Linked DNA regions of Homo sapiens: all the other regions are linked to region 1. Evidence: promoter capture Hi-C in 16 types of primary human blood cells and fetal thymus (Javierre and others, 2016). All regions are on one chromosome and are shown on one strand. Each heading gives the region's core, a stretch centred on a gene start or on the middle of the fragment in contact. The rest is flanking DNA. Distances are from core to core; before and after follow the strand shown. Region 1 holds the start of NEK9 (NIMA related kinase 9). Region 2 overlaps FLVCR2 (FLVCR choline and putative heme transporter 2). Region 3 holds the start of LOC107984653 (a long non-coding RNA gene). Region 4 overlaps JDP2 (Jun dimerization protein 2). Region 5 overlaps BATF (basic leucine zipper ATF-like transcription factor). Region 6 overlaps FLVCR2 (FLVCR choline and putative heme transporter 2). Region 7 overlaps FLVCR2 (FLVCR choline and putative heme transporter 2).

Region 1 (3,273 bases), core at 224-2,723:
GTTTCTCTAACTAAAATATAGAAATAACAATCCTTATCTCCTCTTTCTCATTTTGAGTGCAAAAAAGAAAACAGACTACTAAGAATAACTAACTCTAACATCATACATTAACGTGGCATCAGGATAAAAAAGAACACTTAAAAATATTCTCTTGCAACCACTTCTCTCCTTCTCCATCTTTCAGCCTTAAAAGTATGCTGGCTTGGAACACACACCAGAACTGCAGATGGATTTCCGACGGATGAATCACCTTCAGCAACCCCAGCAAGTTCTCATTAAATGTTTACCCTAAAGTAAGATTTTATGATCAAATCTAGTGTATCGTTAGTTTTTGGAAGTAGAATAATCACTGCAGGGTTTTACACTAGTATATATTAACTTGGGATTCCGTGATCCATGGATCTCTCCAAAGGATGTGCATATGTGCAAATGTGTTGATGGAGGGGGCAAGATTACTTTGCTTAGGTTATCAAAGGGGTCCTTGTGCCCCCCAAATTAAGAACTAATGGCTTAGAATATACCAACAAAGTATTTCCCATGCATAAACCCTGCAAGATAAACACTGATAAAGAACCAACACACAAAGATCTTCCCAATGAGCTTCAAGAAAAGCTTCCAACTGAGTGATCACTGCTGAACTTAAAGATAATGACAAAAATAACGGAGTTGCCACGGGTGTGGGGATTTTGAAGCTATGCCCCTCCTCCTCACCCCGACCTTGGAGAACTATATATACAGCATGAGAGGAAGGAAGTTTTGGCAATACCTCACATTCGTATACCACTTTAATTTACAGAACAGAGCCTTCGTTTGATTCTCAAGATAATCTTAAAAAAAAAAGAAAAAGATGATTTCAAGGTATTATCAGTAAGCCCATTTTACAGATGGGGAAACTAAAGCTCAAGAGACGGTTAGGTGACTTAGGACAATCAAAAATGACTAGTCAAACCAATGATCTAGCCAATTTCTAGTGCCGGTGAGTGGGAAGAGTGGTGAAGACCCTAAGACATATACCCCGTGGGCGCCTAAAGCACTAAGCTCACGACGCTGGGAAAGCGGGGCCGAGAAGGAGGGACTCGGGGCGACCCGACAGCGCCAGACAGGGCGGCCGGCGCCGAGGGCCGCTACCTCGGTGCGGCGGTACAGCGTGGCTTCCCCGAAGGCGCCGCGGCCCAGGACGCGGATGGGGATGTAGTGCAGTTCCTCCTGCTCCGCCGCGCCGCCGCCGGCTCGCGGCCCCTGACTGGCGCTAGGCCCCGGACTCGAGTCCCCGCAACCCCCGGACTCGCTCCCAAAGTCCGAGTTGATGGAATCGCAGTGTCGCTCGTACTCGCCCAGCACCGACATGGCGGCGGCCGCGGGCCTTGGGGACCAGCCTGCGTATGCCCGGAGGCCCTGGCCGCGCTGCGTCCCGCTCGCTTCAGATGCCGGCCCGCGGATCCGTCAGCCCAGCAACCCCGCGAAGCTCGATGGTGGCTCCTGCCCCCCGACCCGGAAACAGTTCTCTGTGTTTCCGGCCTGGCTGAGTTTCCTCCGCCTTTGCTTACCCTCTTGGCTAGTCTAGCGGCCAAGGCTTCCCGCTTTCGGGGAAGGCCTGCAAAGTGAGGCCTCGGGCTAGGGTTGGCGGGCGCGTGGTGGGAACCGCGTGGAACCGAAGGGCTCCCACGGGAACAAGGGCATCACTGACGGTACGGCCTCTCGGGTCTATTGACCCTTCTCTGCCTCCCCGGTCCGGACTCATACAACTTGGAGGCCCAGAGGTCGTCCAGTCTCATCTTGACGTCAGGTCTGTGACAAGAGGGTGATTGGGGAAGCATTCCCAGTGTACACCTTCTTCCCCATTCCAACGTTGGACAGCATTCTTTTTTAGAGAGATAGTATAGTAAAGATAATATGGCCGGGCAAGGTGGCTCACGCCTGTAATCTCAGCATGTTAGGAAGCCGAGGCGGGCGGATCACCTGAGGTCAGGCGTTTGAGACCAGCCTGACCAACTGGTGAAACCCCGTCTCTATAAAATACAAAAATTAGCCAGGCGTGGTGGCAGGCACCTGTAATCCCAGCTACTCCAGAGGCTGAGGCAGGTGAATCACTTGAACCCGGAAGGAGGAGGTTGCAGCGAGCCGAGATCGCGCACTACACTCCAGCCTGGATAACAGAGCGAGACTTTGTCTCAAAAAAAAAAAAAATAATAATAATATAGACAGCCTAAATGTCTGCCTCCGGTCATCTCGGTCCCTGGGCCGAGTTCTTTCTCCCAGGGCCATCCTAAGTCCCTCCCTCTTCTACACAACTCCAAAAATATTTTAAGTCAACTCTCCTGACACTTTCCTTCTCCCCCGTCTCTTTTTCCAGATTCAATTTATTCTATGTGTTTTTCCAGATATTTGACCATATGATATCATGAAACATTCTTTGAGCACTTGGTGCCACACACTGTTTGGGAACAGGAAATCTGCAATAATGTTCTCCCTACCGTCAAGTAGGAAAACAGCAATACGGTGAACAATAGGTGTTCCATCAGTTATGTGACCTTGGGCAATTATGTGACCTTGGGCAACTTCTCATCTCCAAGCTTGTTTTGTTGTGAGAATGTGGTCTACATCACAGACATAACAGCTAACATTTATTGAGTGTTATGTTCTGGGTACTATGCTAAAGGTTTTTTACGTATTATCTCACATTATTATGTATTATCCTATGTATTATGTATTATGTATTATCCTAACATTCCCATTTTACAGAAACAGAGGTACCTAAGTAACCTGCTTAATGTGACAGACCTAGTAAGAGGGAGCTGGGAAGTTGAACCCAGCAATCTGAAAAAGCAGGATGTGATGGGGCTAAGAGAAAGCCATGTGCCTAGCCGGGCGTGGTGGCTCACACTTGTAATCCCAGCACTTTGGGAGGGCCGATCACTTGAAGCCTGGAGTTCGAGTTCAGCCTGGCCAACATGGTGAAACCCCGTGTCCACTAAAAATACAAAAATTAGCCAGGCGTGCACACACCTGTAATCCCAGCTACTTGGGACGCTGAGGCACAAGAATTGCTTGAACTGGGGAGGCGGAGGTTGCGGTGAGCCAAGATCATGCCACTGCACTCGAGCCTGGGCAACAGAGTGAGAACCTGTCTCAAATACATAAAAATACATTGTGTCATATCGATTTGTGAAAAGTTCCTACTTTAAGAGAGCTTACATGTAACAGAAAACCACCAGGCAATTAAAACAGTTTCTATAAGGGCTATTAAAGTGCAAGATTCTAGAGAGGCATTTA
Region 2 (3,491 bases), core at 660-3,159, 470 kb after region 1:
TTGTTTACTTCCAATATACAACGGTTGCACAGGCATTGGGTAAAATTACCATTCAAACATAGGGTCTTGCTCTTTCACCCAGGCTGGACTGCTGTGGTGAGTTCTTGGCTCACTGCAATTTCTGCCACCTGGGCACAAGTGATCCTCCCACCTCAGCCTGCCAAGTAGCTGGAACCACAGGCCATGTCACCACACCCAGTAATTTTTGTATTTTTTTGTAGAGACGGAGTTTCGCCATGTTGCCCATAGTGGTCTCGAATGCCTGCACTCTAGTGATCCTACCACCTTGGCCTCTCAGAGTGCCTGGATTACAGGCATGAGCCACACCAAGCCCTGGCCAGCAGACTTTAAATCTTAAACCTCCAGAATAATCTCCTTTGGATCAATGTTTTGCATCCTGGGCACACTAGTGCCAGGAGGGGGTTCCCAATGCCTCAGGCAGCCCTTTCCCCATGGCTTTGCTGGACATAGCCCACATGGCTGTACTCACAGGTTGGAATCACATGGCTTTGCTGGACATAGCCCACATGGCTGTACTCACAGGTTGGAATCAAATGCCTGAAGCTTAGCCAGGCTGAGGTCACATGCTGCCAGTGACTTTAGCATTTTGGGGTCCTTGCGGTGGCCCTACTCTTGTGGCTCCACTAGGCATTGTCCTAGTGAAGACTCTTTGCAGAAGAGTCCTCTGCTGTGGCCTCACATTTCTGCTTGGCATTGTCTTAGCAGAGGCTGTCTGTGGTGGCTCCCCCACATGGCAGGTTTCTGCCTAGGCTCCCAGGCTCTCTTTTTCTCTTCATTCCTTTTTTTTTTTTTTTTTTTTTTTTTGACAAAGGGTCTTACTCTGTCACCCAGGCTGGAGTGCAGTGGTGTGATCACAGCTCACTGTACCTTGACCTCTGAGGCTCAATCAATCTTCCAGCCTCAGCCTCCCAAGTAGCTGGGACTACAGGCATGCACCACTGCACCTGGTTAATTTTGTTTCTTTTTTGTTTTTGTTTTTGTTTTGTAGAGATGAGGTCTTGCCATTTTGCCCAGGCTGTTCTTGAACTCCTGAACTCAAGTGATCCACCCACCTCATCCTCCTAAAGAGTTGGGATTTCAAGCATGAGCCACTGTGCCTGGCCTGCTCCCAGGCTTGCTGATACATCATCTGAAATCTAGGTGGAAGCTGCCATGCCCACCACTCTTGCATTCCACATGCATGAACAATAGTACCATGTGGACATGGATGCCACCAAGACCCACAGCTTGCACTCTCCAGAGCAGTGGCCCAAGCTGTACCTGGGGCTATTGGGCCATGGCTGCTCTGGCCAGAGCAGCTAGGAGAAGCATCCTGAGGTGGCTCAGGGCAGTGGTATCCCACCATTCTGTCCTCCTAGGCCTCTGGGTCTGTGACAGGAGGAATGGCCTTAGACTTTTGAAATACTTTCAGGGCCTTTTTTCCATTGTTCTGTTAGTACCTGGCTCCCTTCTGTCAGAACTAATCTCTTTAGCAAAAGGTCCCTTGGCTGCACCCTTAGATTCCTCTTCTGAAAATGTTCTTTCATTCTCTACCACTTGGCCAGGCTGCAAATTTTCTAAATTTTAATGCTCTGCTTCTTACACATTTCACCTTTAGGTCACTCCTTTGCTGTGTTTAAGCTGTCAAAGTAACCACACTGTGTCTTGAGCATTTTGCTGCTTAGAAATTTTTCTGCCTAGGCCGGGCATGGTGGCTCATGCCTGTAATCACAGCACTTTGGGAGGCCGAGGTGGGCGGATCACCTGAGGTCAGGAGTTCGAGACTAGCCTGGCCAACATGGTGAAACCCCACCTTTAAAAAGAAAAAAAAAAAGAAATTTCTCCTGCCAGATGCCCTAGGTTATCATTTTTAAGTTTGGTATTTTATAAAGCCCTAAGGCATGGACACAATGCAGCCAAGTTCTTTGCTGTGGCATAACATGGGTGACCTTTGTTCTAGTTTCCAAATAAACGCTACTTTCCTTCATCAGAATGGCCTTTACTGTCCATATTTCTATCAGCATTTTGGTCATAACCATCTAACCAATCTCTGAGAAGTTCCAAACGTTCCCTCATCTTTTTGTCTTTTTCTGAGCCCTCATCAAAATTACTCTTAATGCCCTGTTCACAGCAATTCAGGTGTTTTCTAGCCTATTTCTTCAAACTCCTCCAACTTCTGCCCGTTACCCAGTTCCAAAGCTGCTTCTGCATTTTTAGGTATCTTTATGGCACAACCCCACTCCTTGGTACAAATTGTCTGTCTTAGATCATTTTGTGTTGTTATAACAGAATACCTGAAACTGGGTCATTTATAAAGAAAAGGTGTATTTACCTCACTGTTCTGTAGGCTGGGACATTCAAGGGCGTGCCTGCAGCCTGCAGGGGGTTGTAGCTCTCATGCTACATTATAACATGACAGAGAAGGTTAAAGGGCAAGTGGACACGTGCAAAGAGGCAAACCCAAGGGATCTCTTGGCTTTAAAACAACCCACTATCATGGGAACTCACCCATTTCTGCAGGAACTAATCTAGTCTTGCGAGAGTGAGAATCTGCTTCCATGAGATCAGCTGGTGGAGGATCCTCCCCCATGATCCAAATGCCTCCCACTAAGCCTCACCTCCCAACACCACCCCATTGGGGATAAAATTTCAACATAAGTTTAAGAGGGGACAAACTCAGATCATATCCGAACCATAGCACTTGTCCTCAAGGCCCCAGCCTGCTTAGACAATCTCTGAAATGTCTTCAGGGTTTTTCTCTCATTGTCTTGATGAATAGGCCTGGTTGCCTTCTGTCTACTAATTTTTTTAGCAAATGATTTCTTGGCCACGCCCTTGGTTTTTCTCCTACGGACACTTTTTCAGTCTACATGGCCAGCCTTCAGATTTCCCAAATCTTTCTGCTCTGCTTTCTTTTTCATTACTAATTCCACCTTTTAGTCATTTCTCTCCTCTCATGTTTTACTATATGTGCTTCAAAGTAGCAATACAGCTCCTTCAATATTTTGCTTAGAAATTTCTTTCACCAGATATCCTAGTTCATCACTCTTAAGTTCTGTCTTCCACAAATTCCTAAGACACTGACAGAATTCTGCCAAGTTCTTTGCAAGTAGATAACAAGAATGGCTTTTACTCCAGTTTCCAATACCTTGTTCCTCATTTCCATCTGACACCTCATCAGAATGGTCTTTACTGTCTATAACTGTCTATATTTCTACCAACATTCTGATTAGGACCACCTAAGTAATCCCTGAGAAGCTTTAGGCTCTTCTTAAAGTTCTTTTTTCATCTGAGCCCTCTCCAGAATTCCCCTTAATACTCCATTCATGGCAGACTTTTCTCTCCTGATCCTCCAAATTCTTCCACCTTCTACCCATTTCCAGTTCAAAAACCACTTCCACATTTTCAGGTATTTGTTATGGCATCAGACTACTTCATGGTATCAATTTTCTGTCTTAGTCAGTTTTATGCTACTATCACAGAATACCACA
Region 3 (3,440 bases), core at 436-2,935, 430 kb after region 1:
GTGTGTGTGTGTGTGTTTTCAATAGAGATAGGGTTTCACCATGTTGCTCAGTCTTGTCTTGAACTCCTGGACTCAAGTGATCCACCTGCCTTGGCCTCCCAAAGTGCTGGGATTGCAGGTGTGAGTCACTGCACCCAGCCAAAAGCATCTTATCTTCTTTCTCTATCTTGTGGCATGTGAAGATACTGATACTAAACTTTGCCAATCATCTTTCAACTTGCAGCCATACACATAGGTACCCATTCCTAGGGATCAGCTCTTCATATCTGGGCCATGGGAGCTGTGAAATTAGATTGCGAGTCACATTAGCACCACGTCAATCCTCTCCACCCCAACCACCATTAGCACATCTTCTCTAAGTGAAGTCAGCATTATTCACATAAAATGTTATCCATTGACTACTGGTGCACAGTGTGATTGGGGTTTATGAGTTACTCGGGGTGATTATATGATGAAGACTCAATTCTTAGTGGGGGCGCTGGAGACCTTGCACCCTCTGTCCCCCAGCTCACTTCATATCACCCTCTTTTCCTCTGCACTGGCATCTGTCCCTTCCCCAAATCTCTGCGTGCTCCCTCCAGCCCAAGAGCCTTGCTCATTCTGCTCAGCCCTAACTGAAATGCTCTTACCCTTCTAGCTCATTCATTCCTACCTTTTGTCAAATACCAGCTTGGGGAAATTTTGCTTGATTCCCAGGCTAGATCAGAACTGCAATTTCAAATAGTTTCATAGCACCTCATGCCCTTCCTTTATACCCATTAACACAGACTGAAAATTTACATTTATCTATGTGGTTATTTGGTTAACATTTGTCTCTGTGACTGGACCATCCATTCTATAATGTCAGGGATTGCCAATGTTTTGCTCACCATTGTATTCTCAGCTCCTTGCACAGTAGCAAAGAGCCTACCACAGAGTAGAAATTCAATAAATATTCATTGGCTGAATGAATAAATGGATGGATGGATGGAACACAGTGCCTGCCTTCTAGGAATGTAAAATCCAAGCCAATTATTATTCTGACGATGGAATACAAATGACAAAATAAATATTCAGTTAACATATAAAAAGTAAGAATCAATCAGATATTTTAAGAGCAGGAATCAAGGGAAGGCATGTATTCTTGTGAAGATGGTAGAGATTAGGGATAGAGTCCCAGGTGGGGCTGGAAGAGGCGAGGGCAGGGAACTGTGTCTCCTCAGTCACAGTGTTATCTAGCTTTTAGTCTGTGTCTAGCTGTCACCTATTAGACAGAGGGAAAGACCAGGATCAAAGTAAAAGCAAGTTGGAATCCTGCACAAGGCCCTGTAGAAATAGATTAGCCCCAGTCCACCCTCATCGCCTATTTTCTATTACTCCAAATCCTGCTTCCATGGTAATGGAAGCTGGTTGGCCTGCCTTGCTGGTGGTTCATGCCTCTACACCCTACAAACACGAACACAACCTACGTACTGCTGTAATTGAATACCACAGACTCAGTAATTTACAAAGAAATGAAATTTATTTCTCACAACTCTGGAGGCTGGCCAGTCCAAGAGCATGGCACCAGTATCTGGCCAGGGTCATCCCATGGCAGAAGGGTGGAAGGCAGAAGTGAGCACATGAGACAGAGAGGGGAGCAGACCAAACTCCACCTTTTTATCAGGAACCCACTCCTGCAACAACCAACTCATTCCTGTGATAATGGCGTTAATCTATTCATGAGAGTGGAGCCCTCATGAGCTAATCACCTCTTAAAGGTCCTGCCTCTCAACACTGTTTCAATGGCAATTAAATTTCAGTATGAGTTTTGGAGGGCACATTCAAACCGAAGTGGCTCCAACCCCACATTTTCACTTGGGATTGCCCTAGTGGGGACTCTCTGAGGTGACCGTTCCCCTGAAGCAGATTTCTACTTGAGCTTCCAGGTGATCCATGACATCCTTTGAAATCTAAGCAGAGGAAGCCATGCTTCTATAGCCCTTGCATTTTGCATCCTTGCAGACTTAACACCAAATGTTTGCCATCAAGGTTTACCACCTATTCTTTCTGGAGCACCCAGGCTGCTTGAGCCACAGCTGGGAGGGCTGAGAGGCACTGTGCTGAAATTCAGGGAGCAGAGAGAGAGAGTTTCACTTTGTCACCCAGCCTGGAGTGCAGTGGCATGATTATAACTCACTGCAGCCTCGAACTCCTGGGCTCAAGGGATCCTCCTTCCTCAGCCTTCCAAGTAACTGGGACTACACATGCCACCACACCCAGCTAATTAAATTTTTTTTTTTTTTTTTAGAGATGAAGTTTCACTACATTGCCCAGGCTAGTGTTGAACTCCTAACCTCAAGTGATCCTCCTGCCTCAGCCTCCTGAGTTGCTGGGATTACAGGTGTGAATCACCATGCCCAGCTTGGGTAATTTGTAGGGAAAAAAAATTATTTCTCATAGTTCTGGAGGCTGGGAAATCCAAGAGCATGGCGCCAGCATCTGGCAAGTGTTATCCCATGGCAGAAGGGTGGAAGGTGGAAGCAAGCACATGAGACAGAAAGGGAAGTGAGCCAAACTCGTCTTTTTTATTGGGAACCCACTCCAAAGATAAACCCGCTTCTGTGACAATGACATTAATCGAGGGACCCATTAATCCATGAGGGCTCTGTCCTCATGACCGAATCACTTCTTAAAGGCCCCGCTTCTCAACTCTGTTACAATGGCAATTAAATTTCAACACGAGTTTTGGAGGAGACATTTAAACCACAGCAATCATTGAGAGAAGATGACAGAGACCAGATATCTACTTACATCGTGCCCAAAACCCCCAGTGGTGACTCATGGTGGACAGTTAAATGGCTGTCCAGATAGGCCATTCACTAACCCATGAGTGAGGGCAGAGACTATCTGTGTCTTGTTTACTGCTATATTCCTAGTGCCCAGCAGAGCAGATATGTGATATTTATAGGTTTGATAAATGAATTAATTAATCATAAATATAAATAATTCATTCATTCATATATTCTCAAGCCTTGTCTACTTCAGGTTGAGAATTTTGAGTTTGGACTGTGACTAAATTACCTATGGCTCCCTCAAAGGTTTGTGTCTCATTGTTTATCCCCAGGGGGTGGGGGAACAAGTCCATAAGAGCCCTAAATGCCCAGGAAGCAGGACTGACTGGGATGATCTGGTGGCCTCAGGAAGGTCACTGCACTACTATAATGGGGATCTAGTTCTGTCTGGGTCTAAAACCTGGGGCTGAAGGCAAGATGTCACGGAATTGTGACCTAGAGCTGAGATGCACCTGATTACAGTGACCCCCACACACTTTTTTTTTTGCTACCCAGAATCCATTTCTTCTCCTTCTCCTTCTTCTCCTCCTCCTCCTCTTCGTCCTCCTCCTCCTCCCCTTTCTCCTCCTCCTCCTCCTCCCCTTTCTCCTCCTCCTCCTCCCCTTTCTCCTCCTCCTCCTCCTCTTT
Region 4 (3,692 bases), core at 719-3,218, 310 kb after region 1:
CCTTCCTCATAGATAGCACACACACTCACCTTTAACTTAGATTTGCTTCATCTCCTACTCAGGGTGTCTTAACAAATATGCAGAATAGGATGTGTGATTGGAGGGGAGGCACCATGCCAGACCAAAAATAGCTTCCTCTGAAACAGGTGTGAAGGTGCTTGAGGTTCTGCCGTTATAATTCGCTCTCTTCAGAGACTGTATGCTGCCATTGAAATCCCAGCTCCACCAATTTTAACTGTGTACAACCTTAAGCGAATTATCATTCTAAGCTTGGCTACTTCCTCTGTGTAATGACCTCTGATCCAGCCTAATGGGACTGCAGGATTACCATGGGGCCTGGCACATACCAAAGGCTGAATACATGTTGCCTATGATTGGGTCAAGCATTGCCTTCAAAATAAAAAAGGCAGACACTTCTGGCAGTGCCAAGGGTGACCTTGGTGTGAGTTAATTGAGCAACTTTTCCTCTATAACAGGAAGGACTTTACGGCAGGAAGAGCAGCTGGGTGGGAAAGGGATTCAGGGGAACATTGGTGAAAGAAGCCACAGTCCTGGCAAGACGAGGGACTTGAGCCCTCCTGGAGCCCCCAACCTGGCTGACTGTCCTGCTCTTTTCCTGCCCACTCCAGGCTGGCCTGCCACTCCTCCTGCTATGATGCCTGGGCAGATCCCGGACCCTTCGGTGACCACAGGCTCCCTGCCAGGGCTTGGCCCCCTGACCGGGCTCCCCAGCTCGGCCCTGACTGTGGAGGAGCTGAAATACGCTGACATCCGCAACCTCGGGGCCATGATTGCACCCTTGCACTTCCTGGAGGTGAAACTGGGCAAGAGGCCCCAGCCCGTGAAAAGTGAGGTGAGCGAGCCTTTTACCCCTGGCAGATTCCAGGTCTGGCCTTAAACCCACCATGGGACCTTAACCTTGCTGTTCAAAGTGTGGTCTGAGGACCAGTATCATCCGTACCACCCTGGGGTTATCAGAAATGTGGAATCCCAGGCCTCGCCCCAGGCCTTCTGTATCAGAATCTGCATCTTAACAAGATCCCCCAGGGATTCGTGGACGTATTAACACTTGAGAAGCACTGGGCCAGGGGAGGATGTTTAACCTGTCTCTGGTTCTCTGGGGGGCGGTGGAAGAGTGATAATAATGACAGTAATGAATAGTAATATCTTGGCCATCTCTCTGGGGTGGTGGGAGGATTGGGGAGATAATGGGAATGGGAATGTGTACATGTTTTGAAAAGTAGACAAGAGAATGCCAATATTAGGTTATCTTTTAAAATTGTTATCATTAGTCACATCGTGACCTCCACCCCTCTTGGCCCTTTCTGCAGCTGAACCAGGGAACTTGGAGGAAGAGTAGCGTGGCCTCCCTTCCCAAGCAGCTGCCAGAGCTAGGCATGGCCTCGGTCAGCCAGCAGTGTCCGCCTTAGATGGCGTTTGCCCGGGACCCACACGTGGAGCACCCACATGTGGCATTTGCAAGGAATTCCTCCTCAGGTCCCTTGCACCTGCAGCTCTCATGAGCCCTTTTTCTCGGGGCACTGGTGAGCAGCAGCAGTCCCCGGCATGGCTGAGGATCTGTGCAGGGCATGCCCCCGGCGACTTGCCCAGGGCTGGCCGTTTCTCTGAAGGCCTGTCCCAGCAAGGTTCCCAGCAGCGCCGTTTCTTCAGAGGCCTGCCAGAGTAGCTGCCCCCTGGAAAGGAGGAGCCTGTGGTGGGAGGTGGGGAAGAGGCTGGGATCGGGAGGGCGCAGGAAGCAGCTGAGCATCTGGGAATGGTAGCTCTGCTTGGAGGGAGAGTTCACAGGCAAAGATGAGCCTGGGGGGAGCTCGGAGGGCTGAAGTGCTGGAAGTGCTGGAGAGAGGACTTTCTTCGTGGAGAAGGGTGTCTGGGTACCCGTAGGGGAGAGCTGGGGATATTAGGCAACTATCTCTCAGCTCCCCTTCTCCTGATAGGTACCTAAAAACTGCAGAGGACTGCTGGGGGCTTGGCTGTGGTGGCAAACTGGCCGTGGTGGCAAACTGGCCATTTGCAGGCTGGACCTGGCTCTCAGATGTATTTTGTTTGGCCGGCTCAGTGTTTTAAAAGAAACGCGAACCCCCATTTCATTTGAAAATTTTGATTAAAAAATTGTAAGATCTCATCATACACTACCCTGTTCTGGCATGGTAATGGCTAAGTGGGGTGGACAGAGGCACTTCACTGTTTCCTCTTTCCAGTGGGCCACAGGCCCCTGCACCTCCCTGTTATTCGTGATCCTACTTACATTGTTGGTTTTGCTTTTGCTACTACCATCTGCCTTCATTTACCTCTACTGCCTGGTCCCTGTTAGCCATTTGTGCTCAAGACACGTGGATAAGGTCCATCATAGGTGCCTACTAAAGACTGTGGATTACAAGCTGTGAGTTGATGGTGATTACATTCTTCTGAATTGATCTTGTAAGCCAATGTGTCGTTGGGGCACATCCCGGCTTATATAGTGTTCTGTCTTCACGATGGAGGGTCCTTGTCTTTTGGCCCTCTGCTCCTCACCTTCCCAGGTCTGTAACTTGAGAGCATCTGTTTCTGGATCATTCCACAGTAAAATTGCCATTTAGAGCCAGTAGCTGAGCAGTTTCATGGGGGCACTAAGGCTGCGCATGGGGTTGATGAAGAGCCAGGTGTCTTGGGCAGAGGTCGTCAAGCTGGGATTCGCCTGGGGGGCTGAGTTAACACCTCTCTCCTCTGCAAAAGGCACTGGAGGAACTCTTCCCTTTTTTTATTTTTTATTTTTGGAAAAGCCACTTTTATTTGGGTTGGGTATTTTTACATTTTACAGCCACCCCCAAATTGGTGGCATCTGCCCTGTACCCGACAGTGACGTGCTGTCCTCACAGGCACCCACAGACGTGCACCATCCAGGCCGCAAAAATAACAAGCCGTTTTTAGGGCATATTTGCATGTCCTCTCCCTCGCTGTCAGACTGCAGTGTTGTGGGGGCGAAGAGGCAGATGGAGCTGCGAGATTGTACCGATGTAGAGAGATGCCAGCCCTGCACTGCGAACCGACCTCCAAATGCTTCCTAGGTCAGACCCCAGGGGCGGGAAGAGCTAATTCTTGGAGTAACTAAAACCTAAAGCGGGGTGGGGAAAGAAACTTGCAGCTGAAGAATCTATGGTCTGAAGATCTATTTGCATATGGCAAACTGCCTTGAGCGGATTTTCATATTGGCATTTTAGACTAGTAAAAGTTTCTTTAATAATAATCAGATACTAGCTCATTAAGCATTTAATATGTCCCAGGACCTGCACAAAGTGCTTAACATGCATGACTTCATTCATTCCTTATTCAGTCCTGGAGTCCAGGTTACCCCCATAGTAGAGAAGAGTTTGAGGTCTAGGGAGGGGGTTCAGTCACTCAGGGTCACACTGCTGGGAAGTGATAGCGCTGGGGCCTGGTGTGGTGGACGATGGCTGCCGTTACAGCCGGGTCTCACTTGTGCTGAGCTAAGCCCTAGGCACGGTACTAGGTCTCTTTGTGAAGTACCTTGTTTACCCTGCACAAGTACCCTCTGAAGTAACTAGTGTTGTTGCTGTTGTTATACCCACATTACAGATGAGGTCAACAAGGCTGAGGGAGGTCCAAGGTCACTGGCTGGGAAATGAGCTCAGGCAGTCTGCCTTGAGCCCAAGCTTTAACCACATGCCGTGTGG
Region 5 (3,561 bases), core at 1,057-3,556, 410 kb after region 1:
GCCTCATTCATTTCATTCCTAGGAATTTCTCCAAGGAAATCACTGAACAGAGACAAAACCCAGTGTGCATCACGATGTTCATCTCAGCATTATTTTTAATAGTGACAATTTGATAGCAACCAAGATGTCCAGCATTAGAAGACCACTTTAAGTAAATTGTGGATAATCAATTTGATGATGCAGTCATTAAAAATTATGTTGACTATGTAGATGTGACAAAGTTATGACAGAAAGCAAAATACAAATTGTATGTGTACTATGATTGAAATTTTGTAAAAATAAGTATGCATGTTTGTTCAAAAGGATGAGATGGCCAAGTGGGATGGTTCATGCCTGTAATCCCAATACATACGGAGGCCAAGGCAGGAGGATGACTTGAGACCAAGCTGGGCAACAGAGTGAGATCCTGTCTCTACAAAATATAAAAATAAAAATAAAAATAATTAGCCAGGCGTGGTAGCTTGCACCCAGCTACTTTAGAGGCTGAGGTGGGAAGATCACTTGAGCCCAGGAGGTTGAGGCTGCAGTGAGCCCTGATTACATCACTGCACTCTGGACTGGGTAATAGAGTGAGACCCTGTGTCAACAAAAAGGATGAGATCTCAATATGTGTAAATGAAAACAGCTGTATTAAGGGACTAGGATCATGGGCGTTTTTAACTTTTAAAAAATATCTTTAATGTAGTTATACTGTATTTTTTTATTTTTAAAGAAACAGAAGAAAATGGCCAAATAGAGAGCTGAAGGAACTCTGGAGGACATCAAGTACAAAGAGACAATATTACTGAGCTCGAATTTGGGGATCAGGTTTTGGTAGGAGACCTTATAATTTATACCCCAAATAGGAATACTTCGAGAGTGGAAGATGGAACTTGTAAATATTACACCAGGAAAACAGGTGTCCCAGTAAATGTCTGGTCACCCTAGACAGGGAAACCAAGAAAGATGACATGAAGCTCTTATGAAAACTCAGAAGTGATAAAGTTCAGAGTCAAGTAGAGGGGACTGGATTCCTATGACCAAAATGTGATTTCCTGCAACTGAGGACCCTGTAACTAAAAAAGGGTACTCAGCTGGCATAAGAATATGTCTTATCATTAAGAGAGTAGGATGACACAGAAAATTATAAAGCAAAGGCCATATTATCAGTACTAGAGCTGAGATCAGCGGAAGTGATTCATCTACTCAACAAATATTTATCAGCCAGGAACAGTTCGTTCTAGGCACTGAGAATATTGCAGGGACAGGACAGACAGAGTCTCTGATTTCACGAACCTTACAGTCAGTTGGAAGTCAGGCTGGAAAACAAATAAACACACTAATCACATGACATGTAAAGTGCTTCAAAGAAGATGAAATCATGCAATGTGGAAAGTGTCTAAGGGACGGGATTGGGGCAGCGATCAGGGGAGGCCTTCCTGAGGCCCTGGAATTTGAGATCAAAGGTGAATCAAAGAGGAGACTGGAAAGATCTGGGGAGAGGGTGATCTCAGCCTAGAGAGCCTTGAGGCCAAGCTGCGAGGCCAGGCAAAGGTCAGAAAGGTGCTTGGTAAGGTGGAGACCAAGTTCAAGACCATAAGGGAGTGAGGAGGAACTCAGTAATAATGGCAATTGTAGGGCTGAGCACAGTGGCTCACACCTGTAATCCCAGCACTTTGGGAGGCCGAGTTGGTTGGATCATTTGAGGCCAGGAGTTCGAGACCAGCCTGAGCAACACAGTGAAACCCCATCTCTACAAAAAAAAATTTTTTTTAAATATCCAGGCATGCACCTATGGTCCCACCTACTTGGGAGGCTGAGGCGGGAGATTTGCTTAAGTCCAAGAGGTCGAGGTTGCAGTGAGTTGTGATAGCACCACTGCACTCCAGCCTGGGCAACAGGGCAAGATCCTGTCTTTAAAATAAAATAAAATAAAATAAAATAAAATAAAATAAAGGCAATTGTGCTGCTAGGAGCAGGAACTGGATGGGGCATGTGGTGGGGACCCAACTAATTCAAACCCTGCCTGGGGGATTTCTCTGAACCTAAACTCTGATCATAAGTTGAGAAGCAATAGCACCTCACTAGGCTGTTTGACCGTTTAATTGAGAGGGCAAATGTAAGAACAAAGCAATATTGTCATTTTTTTTTTACACTGTTCCTTTGTTTAATGCAGACAGCCTGCCCTTTTCCTAGAAATCAATCAGATATATTATCCTACATGAACACACACGTTCTTCTTTCTGGTTGCTTATAAACTCTTTAAGGATATCAGTAGTTTCAGGGGCTTGGCCTTTCACAACTAGGCAAGTCTCCTTTGTTGGGTATGAATGGAGAGAGGGTCAAATTTGAACTAGGGAAATGGCACGACGAAGTTCTTAAAGTGGTTGTAATTCTGCCACTCCCACGCTGTTGGTTCAGTTTGGGGAATAAACAGAGGTTTGACCTAGGCCTTTTGAAAAAATGAATCTCTTGGATTCATTTGGAAGTATCCCAGATTTACAAAGTAGAAGCTATTAAAGTGTTTGAGTGGTGGTTAATCACTCTCTAGGAATTCTCATGGACATCACAGATTTACTCAGCTGACCCTTCTTCATAGGCACATCTCAGATTTTGGAAAATTATTCCAGATTATAAGTTGGCAGTCAAGCAACGTGATTTGATCGAACACTTACTCTATGGCAGGCACTGTCCTTGTCACTGAGAACAAAACAGTGAAGACAATAATAGCTCCTGCCCTCACAGAGCTCAACAATGTAAATGGTAAGGAAACGAAACGGTTAAAGTTATAATTAATGAAACACGAATAGATCCCTGAGCTCTTGCCTTTCCATTATATGAATGAACTGTGCTGGACTATTTAGAATTGTTTCCACCAATTTAAGAATATAATAGTAGTGTGCTTAAATGGACATTTTGTTTTAGAAATTTTTTTAACTAGAAATAGTCTCCCAACTCTTTAAATTTTTTAATATTATACTATAAATGATAAAATAAAATACATATTTAATAAAATGAAAATATGTAAAAATATAAACTCTTTAAGGATATCAGTAGTTTCAGGGGCTTGGCCTTTCACAACTGGGCAAGTCTCACAAATTTAATTTGTTTGTTAACAAACAAATTTAATAAAATCAAACACTATATAGTTATGTTATATTTTTATTATTTTGAGATAAGGTTTCACTCTTTTCCCAGGCTGGAGTGCAGTGGTGCGATCATGGCTGACTGCAGCCTCCACCTCCCAGGCACAAATGATCCTCCCACCTTGGCCTCCCAAATAGCTGGGACTACAGGTGTGTGCCACTATGCCTGGTTAACTTTTAAATTTTTTGTAAAGATTGGGTATCACTATGTTGCCCAGGCTGGTCTCAAACTTCCGGGCTCAAATGACCCTCCTGCCAAAGAAGCCTCCCAAAGTGCTAGGATTACAGCAACTGCACCTGGCCTTATGTTATTATTAAAAGGAATCCACTATGAACATGATTTTTTGCCCATTTGGCTCACTTAGGAAGCATTTTTAAAGTCTTGATGCCTGCAACCACTCCAGAACAATTAAATTGGAACCTCTGGGGGTCTGGC
Region 6 (3,558 bases), core at 617-3,116, 510 kb after region 1:
AGCAGAGGAGGGAGAAATGAAAATGAATGGGGAAAAAAAATCTCAGCGGTGGAAAATTTGTGGAAACCCCAAAGAGTGGAGATGAGGAGGAGGTGATTTCACTCTCCTGTTCTCATGGCACCTTGTGGACCCCATGGGGTTGACCAAGGTACTCTGAGCTTTCTCCAGTTTGCAGTGTATATTATTGTGCAATTATTTATACCTTGTTGGTAAATATTATAACTTACTTTGGACCTGAATGCCCAGTGCATTTCTAAGAGCCTGGAGCTATTTTAAAAGGTTTTATCAGGCTGGGCGCAGTGACTCACATCTGTAATCCCAGCACTTTGGGAGGCCGAGGCAGGAGGATTGCTTGAGTCTAGGAGCTCAAAACCAGCCTGGGCAACATGGTGAAACCCCATCTCTACAAAAAATACAAAAATTAGCTAGGCATAGTGGCACACACCTGAAGTCCCAGCTATTTGGGAGGCTGAGGTAGAAGGATCGCTTGACCCAGGAGGTGGAGGTTGCTGTGAACTGGGTTCACGCCACTGCACTCCAGCCTGGCTCAAGAAAAAAAAGAAAAGAAAATGTTTTATCGGTGTGCACATGGGTTAAAAAAAAATTAAAAGGTTTTAGTGAATGCCAGGCCACTACCCGCCCCATGGATGCCAAATCAGCAGAAGAATCTGCATTTGTAGAAAGCAGCCTGGGTGCCTCCATTCAGCAGCTGGCCTTGGAGAAAATCCTCTGGCGAACAGCAGCCCAACATCCTTCCCTTGTGATTTTCCAGTGCTCCCCGTTCACTGGGTACTCAGTTAGCACTGGCTGGCGGGGCAGCTGTTGGGCTGTACTGTACCGGGGCAGAGCAGTGTCCCCGGCTGCTCTGTCAAGGCCTCCAAAGTTCCCAGTGTCTGCAGGCAACAGACAGTGGCAGACCTGTTCTCTGCCACACAAACCCGCTTCTGTGAGGCCCTGGTCAGACCAGGTCTCATTCTGGCTGCCCTAATCAAAGGCCAATTGAGACCATCCCTAGGGAGGTGGCGACGAGGAGCCTGGCTCGGCTTAATTACTGCTGGCGGGGCTTGGCTGCCATCTCATCGCTGCCATCTGTTAGTTGCTTGCTTCAGCCAGACACAAGAGCAGTGAGGACTGGCCATCCCCAAACCACTGAATAGCAGTGACCCTTTTTCCGGGGCTTGCTCTGCGGCAGGAGGAGGGAGGGATGGGAATGCTGGCTGGGCTGGGACATGGGCAGCCGGATGATTCAGATGAATTAGAAAAGATAATGAGAGGACTGGGAAGAACACTTTCTCAGCCCTCTTCAGAACCTAGATGTCACCAGTTCCTAGCATCACGTGATGTCTAAATCCAGTGGTCAGCACAAGATATTTTTCTCCCTGTGCCACTACCCAGGCAGAGAAAAGGCAACTCCCAGTGGGATGAGAGCTCTGTGATCCCATCATTTCGGAGCCAGTCCTCGTCACTCTAAGGCTCCCAGATTTGTCTAGTTTTGTTTGGAGGTTGGAAATTGGGTGGTGAGGTCTGTTTATCTCAGACTGGGACTACAAATAGTTTTTCTAAACTGGTCAGTGGTTTAGGATGAAGCTATGGTTAAAGCTTCATCCTGGTGAGCTTGTGGGATCATCGGGCAAGACTGGCGTCCATGACGTTGCTTTCAGCAGAGTTGGTAGGAAGAGTGTGAGGGAGGAGCGTGAAGGGAGGAGGAAGCTCCTCTACCCTTAGCAGCTGCTTTGAAGCACCAGGTGGGAGCAGCATCCTTTGGAGACTCTGACCTTGAGCTTTTCCAAAGATGCAACCACATAGTGCATCGTTATTCCCGCATGCAGTAGCAGAAGGGACACAGGTTTCAAATCCAGCTTTGAGTTCACATCTCAGCTCTGCATTTATTCAGCTGGTGACTTTGGACAAGTAACTTGAGTGGCCTGAGCTTCAGTTTCTTCATTGGTAAAATGAGAAATCATCAGATATTTCTTACAGGATTTTTGTAAAGGTTGAATTGAAATAATAAATGCATGTGAAGTGCTTCACAGAATCTGGCACTCAAGAGATGGAGGGTTTCGTTTGACACAACCGTAGCGTGCCATTTGGTGCCTCCACCATGATTCTGGCTTCAGGGGTGATGTGTAAAGAAAAGCTTTAAAGATTTTGGCCAGGTGCGGTGGCTCACGCCTGTAATCCCAGCACTTTGGGAGGCGGAGGCGGGCAGATCATGAGGTCAGGAGATCGAGACCACCCTGGCTAACACAGTGAAACCCTGTCTCTACTAAACAAACTACAAAAAACATTAGCCAGGCGTGGTGGCGGGCCCCTGTAGTCCCAGCTGCTTGGGAGGCTGAGGCAGGAGAATGGTGAACCTGGGAGGCGGAGCTTGCAGTGAGCAGAGATCGTGCCACTGCACTCCAGCCTGGGTGACAGAGCAAGACTCCATCTCAAAAAAAAAAAAAAAAAGAAAGAAAAGAAAAGCTTTAAAGCTTTCATCATCTGAGTCCTGATGTTCATGGTAGGGGGGCAGAGGGATGTGCAGTGCCTATGCCCTGCCTTAGGTAGTGCAGGGAGAAGAATGCAGGTCGAATTGCAGGAGTCGGGGCTGCATCAGAGTCCTAGGTGGGCAACATGGGAAGAGAACTGCTGGAGGGGCACAGGAGGGGGTGAGACTGAAATAGAAACCAAGACTTGCTGATGGTACTCCTGAGGGGATCGACACAGGGAAATGTAACAGGGAGTGGGCGAAGATAGAGAAGGTTTCTCACATTGGCTTTGGAAGTCAAGCACTCAGTTCAGGCTGAGAGAATATTCTCTCTTAGTTCCTGCTCTCTGGAGTGGAGTAGTTCAGACTCAACAGAAAAAGCTTTGCTGGGCCAGGCGCAGTGGCTCACACCTCTAATTAGAACACTTTGGGAGGCCAAGGCGGGCAGATCACCTGAGGTCAGGAGTTTGAGACCAGCCTGGCCAACATGGCGAAACCCCATCTCTACTAGAAATACAAAAAATTAGCCACGTATGGTGGCGCATGCCTGTAATCTCAGCTACTTGGGAGGCTGAGGCAGAAGAATCGCTTGAACCCGGGAGGCAGAGGTTGCAGTGAGCTGAGATCACGCCACTGCACCCCAGCCTGTGCGACAAGAGCGAAACTCCATCTCAAAAAAAGGACAAAAGAAAAAAAAGAAAAGAAAAAGCTTTGCTGGGTCTGTTGGTCTGTTCAAGTAGGGACAGGAAGAACTTGTAGGTGACAGAGCACATTGCCCAGCATTGTCATGGGTCTTGGGATAAAGCAGACAAGCAGAATTGGACAGCTTCTGGGGTAGTCCTGAATGTCACCGCCACCTCATCATGGCTGATGTTTGTCCTGTTTTTTCTTTTTTCTGGTGAGGGATGGGAGAAGGAGAAAGGGCTTTGCCCTTCTTGTCTGTGGCTAGGACATGACAAGTCAAGGGGCAGATTGATATTGTTGAGTGGGTTCTACAGAAAGGGAACAAAGATATCGTAAGATGGCTTCATACTTTACTAGTCTTACTTACCCTTTGTAGCATTGATCATGATGTAATTAAATAATTT
Region 7 (3,295 bases), core at 495-2,994, 490 kb after region 1:
TGCCTTTTGGGGAAGCTCTTGGATCCTCCCTGGATGGCCTGGCCATATTCTGGCCCCATGACTAGGTAGGATTTAGGAGGGCATCTGTGTGCTAGGGTTCTGATTCAATTGTGACTTAGGGCTTTGTGAATGGTGGGTGGGGACAGTGGATGGTGGAAGAGGATGGGAAACAGTGGTTCTGTGGATCTCAGAGCTGGCATAGCATGTGTGTTGTGTTGTGTAATGGGTTGGGTATGGAAATCTTACCCCAGACGCAGCCTGATGATTTTCTGGTTTTATTCTTGCTCTGCCAAATGCATGAGCTAGAATCACAAGTGAGACATCATTCAAAGTATGGCTTCTCCCTGTCACCTAGGGCCCTCAGACGACATAGACATGTTTTTAACTGTGACATTTGCTCTGGAAACGTTCCTGATTACTGACATTACAGTAGCATTTAGAGGTCACCTTTGAGTTTGCAGAAAGGGTGAAAATAAAATAGAAAATGAAAATTAAATATCCCAGGCTGCCTCTCCATCCCTTCATTCATCACATTTTTTGTTAAACACCCTCTATTGGGATGAAGTAAACTATAGTTGTAAAGCTTACCTAACTTTGAAATACTGTATGTTGAAAACTCTAGCTTTGCTACCTATAGCTGTGTGACCTTGAGCAAGTCAGTTAGCCTTCCTGCATCTCAGCTTCATCATCTGTAAAATTGGGACGATGTTAGACCCCTCTTTCTGGGGTTGTTGTGAGGCTTGAGATACTCTGCATAAAGCTCATACATTTTACTATGATGAGTATTATCATGTGCCAGCCTGCAGAGATCAGTGTGAGCCCTGCCCTCATGGAGCTTATAATCTGGTTGGGAAGACAGATGTTAATTAAATGATCATACAAATATAAAATTACCTATGCAGGAACCCAACCTCATGTAAGGGATTAGAGCAACCTTCCTGAGGAAGCAGGATTTGCACTCAGACCTGAAGGATATCTGCATTGACTAGCTGAAACAGGGCAGAGAGAGATTCTAGTCCAGGTAGAGGAGCTGGTGCAAACTCCCCATGGTCACTTGAAAGACAGAAAGGAGCTCAGTGTAGCAAAGTCCTGAGGAACAAGCTGGTGACAAGGGTCAGACCATTAGACAGAGCCCATGTGCAGAACCTTGTGGGCTGTGCTTAGGATTTTTACCTCTAATTTAAAGCAAGGAGAAGTCACTGCAGGGTGTTAAGCAGGACGTTTTCCAAAGATGGCTGGCTATCATGGAAAATAGCTAGGAGCAGAGCTGCATGGAAGCTATTAGGAGGCATGAGTCATACTTTTTCAGAGGCCAGTATCTCCCCAACTCCCTTGATGAAGATGGGGATGCCTGCATATGAAAATACAGGTACCTAGGACCCACCTCAGACCTGAGGGATAAAAACGGGGTTGGTACTGGTGACGTTTGTTATGGGACAAGTTTGGGAAATACTGCTATGGGATGGGTAAAAATGAAGAGAGCCTAATTTTGAAAAGTATGTTCCAGAAGAGCTAAGACTATGACTTGGTTTGACCATGAATTTTGTATTTTGCCCATGACTTTGTGTTTTGTTGAGAATGATAAAACTAGAACAAGTGCAGGGATGTAAGTCAACTCAAAACCAGTTAGCAGTGACATTCATTCATTTGCCTTCCCAAGGTGGGTCTCCAGGAAAGATGCCAAATGCTCCATGTGCCCCGTTCTCCCACATTTTAAATTAATGTTTCACTGATTCAGGCCCCAGGTCTCTGATTTGTACCCCAGAGGTTTCCTGTCAAATGAATGACAACCCAAATGGGTGAAAATGTAGACTTCCGTGTTGACTAGTATCACACCAACATTTCATGGAAGGCAGCAAAGTGAGCCTGGGTTCTGACATCAGACAGAACTGGCTTAGGAGCCCAGCTCCTCTGCTAGCTGCCTGTGTGACCCTGGGCAGGGTGCTGAGCAGCAGGGTTTTTTTTTTTTTTTTGCCCTCTCTCTTTTTTGTTGTTACAAAGTTATTGGCGATAGGCTGGGTGCAGTGGCTCACGCCTGTAATCCCAGCGCTTTGGGAGGCCGAGGCGGGCAGATCACTTGAGGTCAGGAGTTTGAGACCAACCTGGCCAACATGGGGAAACCCTGTCTCTACTAAAAATACAAAAATTAGCCAGGCATGTTGGTGGGCACCTGTAATCCCAGCTACTTGGGAGGCTGAGGTAGGAGAATCACTTGAACCTGGGAGGCGGCAGAGGTTGCAGTGAACTGAGATCATGCCACTGCACTCCGTCCTGGTGACAGAGTGAGACCCCGTCTCAGAAAATAATAATAATTAATTAAAAATAAATAAAGTTATTGGGGTTAAATGAAAAGATAAAGTGTATTACATATTCGGCGCATAGTAGATGCTCAAGATACACTAGGGTATCCTACCCTCTCCTTACTTTCCCATACACATTTTTTTTTCTTACCACTGTGAGTACAATGTAGAAAGAACCTGGACCTTAATAGAGAGATGTGTCATTCCTAGCTTTGTGTAGACAGGATTTTCCACCAACGTTCATCTGCTCATCCATCCATCCATCCATCCATCCATCCATCCATCCATCCATCATGACTATGGAACAGACCTATATACTAGGAACTAGAAATAGACTCTCCCTAAACACTGCTCTTAAGAAGCAGGAAAAAAATATGTATTGAAAAAACAAAAGAGGAAGCAGCTTACAGTCTAATCCTGATGTTTTGGTTTTCCACACTGGGCATAAATGTACCTCCATAGCCAATTTCCTCCTTGAGAAAGGTTACCATGAGACAGTGTTGCTGCCCAGCTGGGGTTACTGTAGGCCACTGCTAAGGCCCACCCATCCAACCTGCTGCCTGGAGAAGGCTTAAAAGCCGGAGTTGGGGTGGAACAGCACTCACTCAAGCTTGGTGTATAGATGGAATGAACAGAGTCCAGCTGCCCCAGAGGAGGAGGGCATACAGTGTAGCACCAGCTGGGAGGATTTCTTTAATGGGGCAGAAGATTAACTGAGAATTAAGATATCCTGTGTTGGGACCTCAGAGCTTTAATTTTCCTTTGGAAATGAAAGAGTCACAGAGCCTCAGATGATGTCTGTATCTTTCCTCACTCTTGCAAATGGGACCCTGGGAGATTCTACTTAACTTCCAGACCTCCAACTCCAAAGTGCTTAGAAGGCCATATATGAGCTGGAGTGGGCCCAGCTTCCCAGCTATGAAGAAGGTTGCATTTGCCCCTCTGCTTGTGGCTGGTTTCTACCTTCAATTAAAGTCTTGAAGATGAGCAGTAGG

What was found. Contacts are between HindIII fragments. The CHiCAGO score rates a contact against its expected background, and 5 or more counts as called.
Region 2: a fragment that was not itself captured here is called in contact with the fragment with the promoter of NEK9 in region 1 in 1 of 17 cell types (activated CD4 T cells); the score reaches 6.1 in activated CD4 T cells.
Region 3: a fragment that was not itself captured here is called in contact with the fragment with the promoter of NEK9 in region 1 in 17 of 17 cell types (activated CD4 T cells, neutrophils, M2 macrophages and 14 more); the score reaches 20.1 in activated CD4 T cells.
Region 4: a contact is called between a fragment that was not itself captured here and the fragment with the promoter of NEK9 in region 1, in 10 of 17 cell types (monocytes, neutrophils, M0 macrophages and 7 more). The highest score is 23.0, in monocytes.
Region 5: a contact is called between a fragment that was not itself captured here and the fragment with the promoter of NEK9 in region 1, in 15 of 17 cell types (activated CD4 T cells, neutrophils, naive CD4 T cells and 12 more). The highest score is 12.7, in activated CD4 T cells.
Region 6: a contact is called between a fragment that was not itself captured here and the fragment with the promoter of NEK9 in region 1, in 1 of 17 cell types (activated CD4 T cells). The highest score is 10.5, in activated CD4 T cells.
Region 7: a contact is called between a fragment that was not itself captured here and the fragment with the promoter of NEK9 in region 1, in 1 of 17 cell types (monocytes). The highest score is 8.2, in monocytes.

What each region holds. Positions count from the first base shown.
Region 1 is chr14:75,125,575-75,128,847 of GRCh38, forward strand. It overlaps NEK9 (NIMA related kinase 9), which reads right to left and starts at 1,474. Exons shown (of 22, transcript NM_033116.6): 1 at 1,129-1,474. The coding sequence starts at 1,347. RefSeq lists enhancers at 1,338-1,387, 1,398-1,527. The HindIII fragment of the contact is 1,961 bases long and covers 611-2,571 here.
Region 2 is chr14:75,591,007-75,594,497 of GRCh38, forward strand. The region is part of intron 1 of FLVCR2 (FLVCR choline and putative heme transporter 2); the gene reads left to right. Among named protein-coding and RNA genes, the nearest start is that of FLVCR2-AS1, 13 kb to the left of the region's middle. The HindIII fragment of the contact is 2,694 bases long and covers 563-3,256 here.
Region 3 is chr14:75,555,845-75,559,284 of GRCh38, forward strand. It overlaps LOC107984653 (a long non-coding RNA gene), which reads left to right and starts at 2,327. Exons shown (of 2, transcript XR_001750830.1): 1 at 2,327-2,362. The HindIII fragment of the contact is 4,794 bases long and covers 1-3,440 here.
Region 4 is chr14:75,437,269-75,440,960 of GRCh38, forward strand. JDP2 (Jun dimerization protein 2) reads left to right here. Exons shown (of 4, transcript NM_001135048.2): 2 at 630-853. The coding sequence starts at 653. Among named protein-coding and RNA genes, the nearest start is that of JDP2, 11 kb to the left of the region's middle. RefSeq lists enhancers at 175-678, 1,686-2,188, 3,028-3,237, 3,392-3,692 and a silencer at 3,428-3,477. The HindIII fragment of the contact is 3,402 bases long and covers 268-3,669 here.
Region 5 is chr14:75,534,827-75,538,387 of GRCh38, forward strand. All of the region lies in intron 2 of BATF (basic leucine zipper ATF-like transcription factor), which reads left to right. Among named protein-coding and RNA genes, the nearest start is that of BATF, 14 kb to the left of the region's middle. The HindIII fragment of the contact is 5,692 bases long and covers 1-3,561 here.
Region 6 is chr14:75,635,295-75,638,852 of GRCh38, forward strand. The region is part of intron 5 of FLVCR2 (FLVCR choline and putative heme transporter 2); the gene reads left to right. Among named protein-coding and RNA genes, the nearest start is that of ERG28, 24 kb to the right of the region's middle. The HindIII fragment of the contact is 538 bases long and covers 1,598-2,135 here.
Region 7 is chr14:75,616,929-75,620,223 of GRCh38, forward strand. All of the region lies in intron 1 of FLVCR2 (FLVCR choline and putative heme transporter 2), which reads left to right. Among named protein-coding and RNA genes, the nearest start is that of FLVCR2-AS1, 39 kb to the left of the region's middle. The HindIII fragment of the contact is 2,327 bases long and covers 582-2,908 here.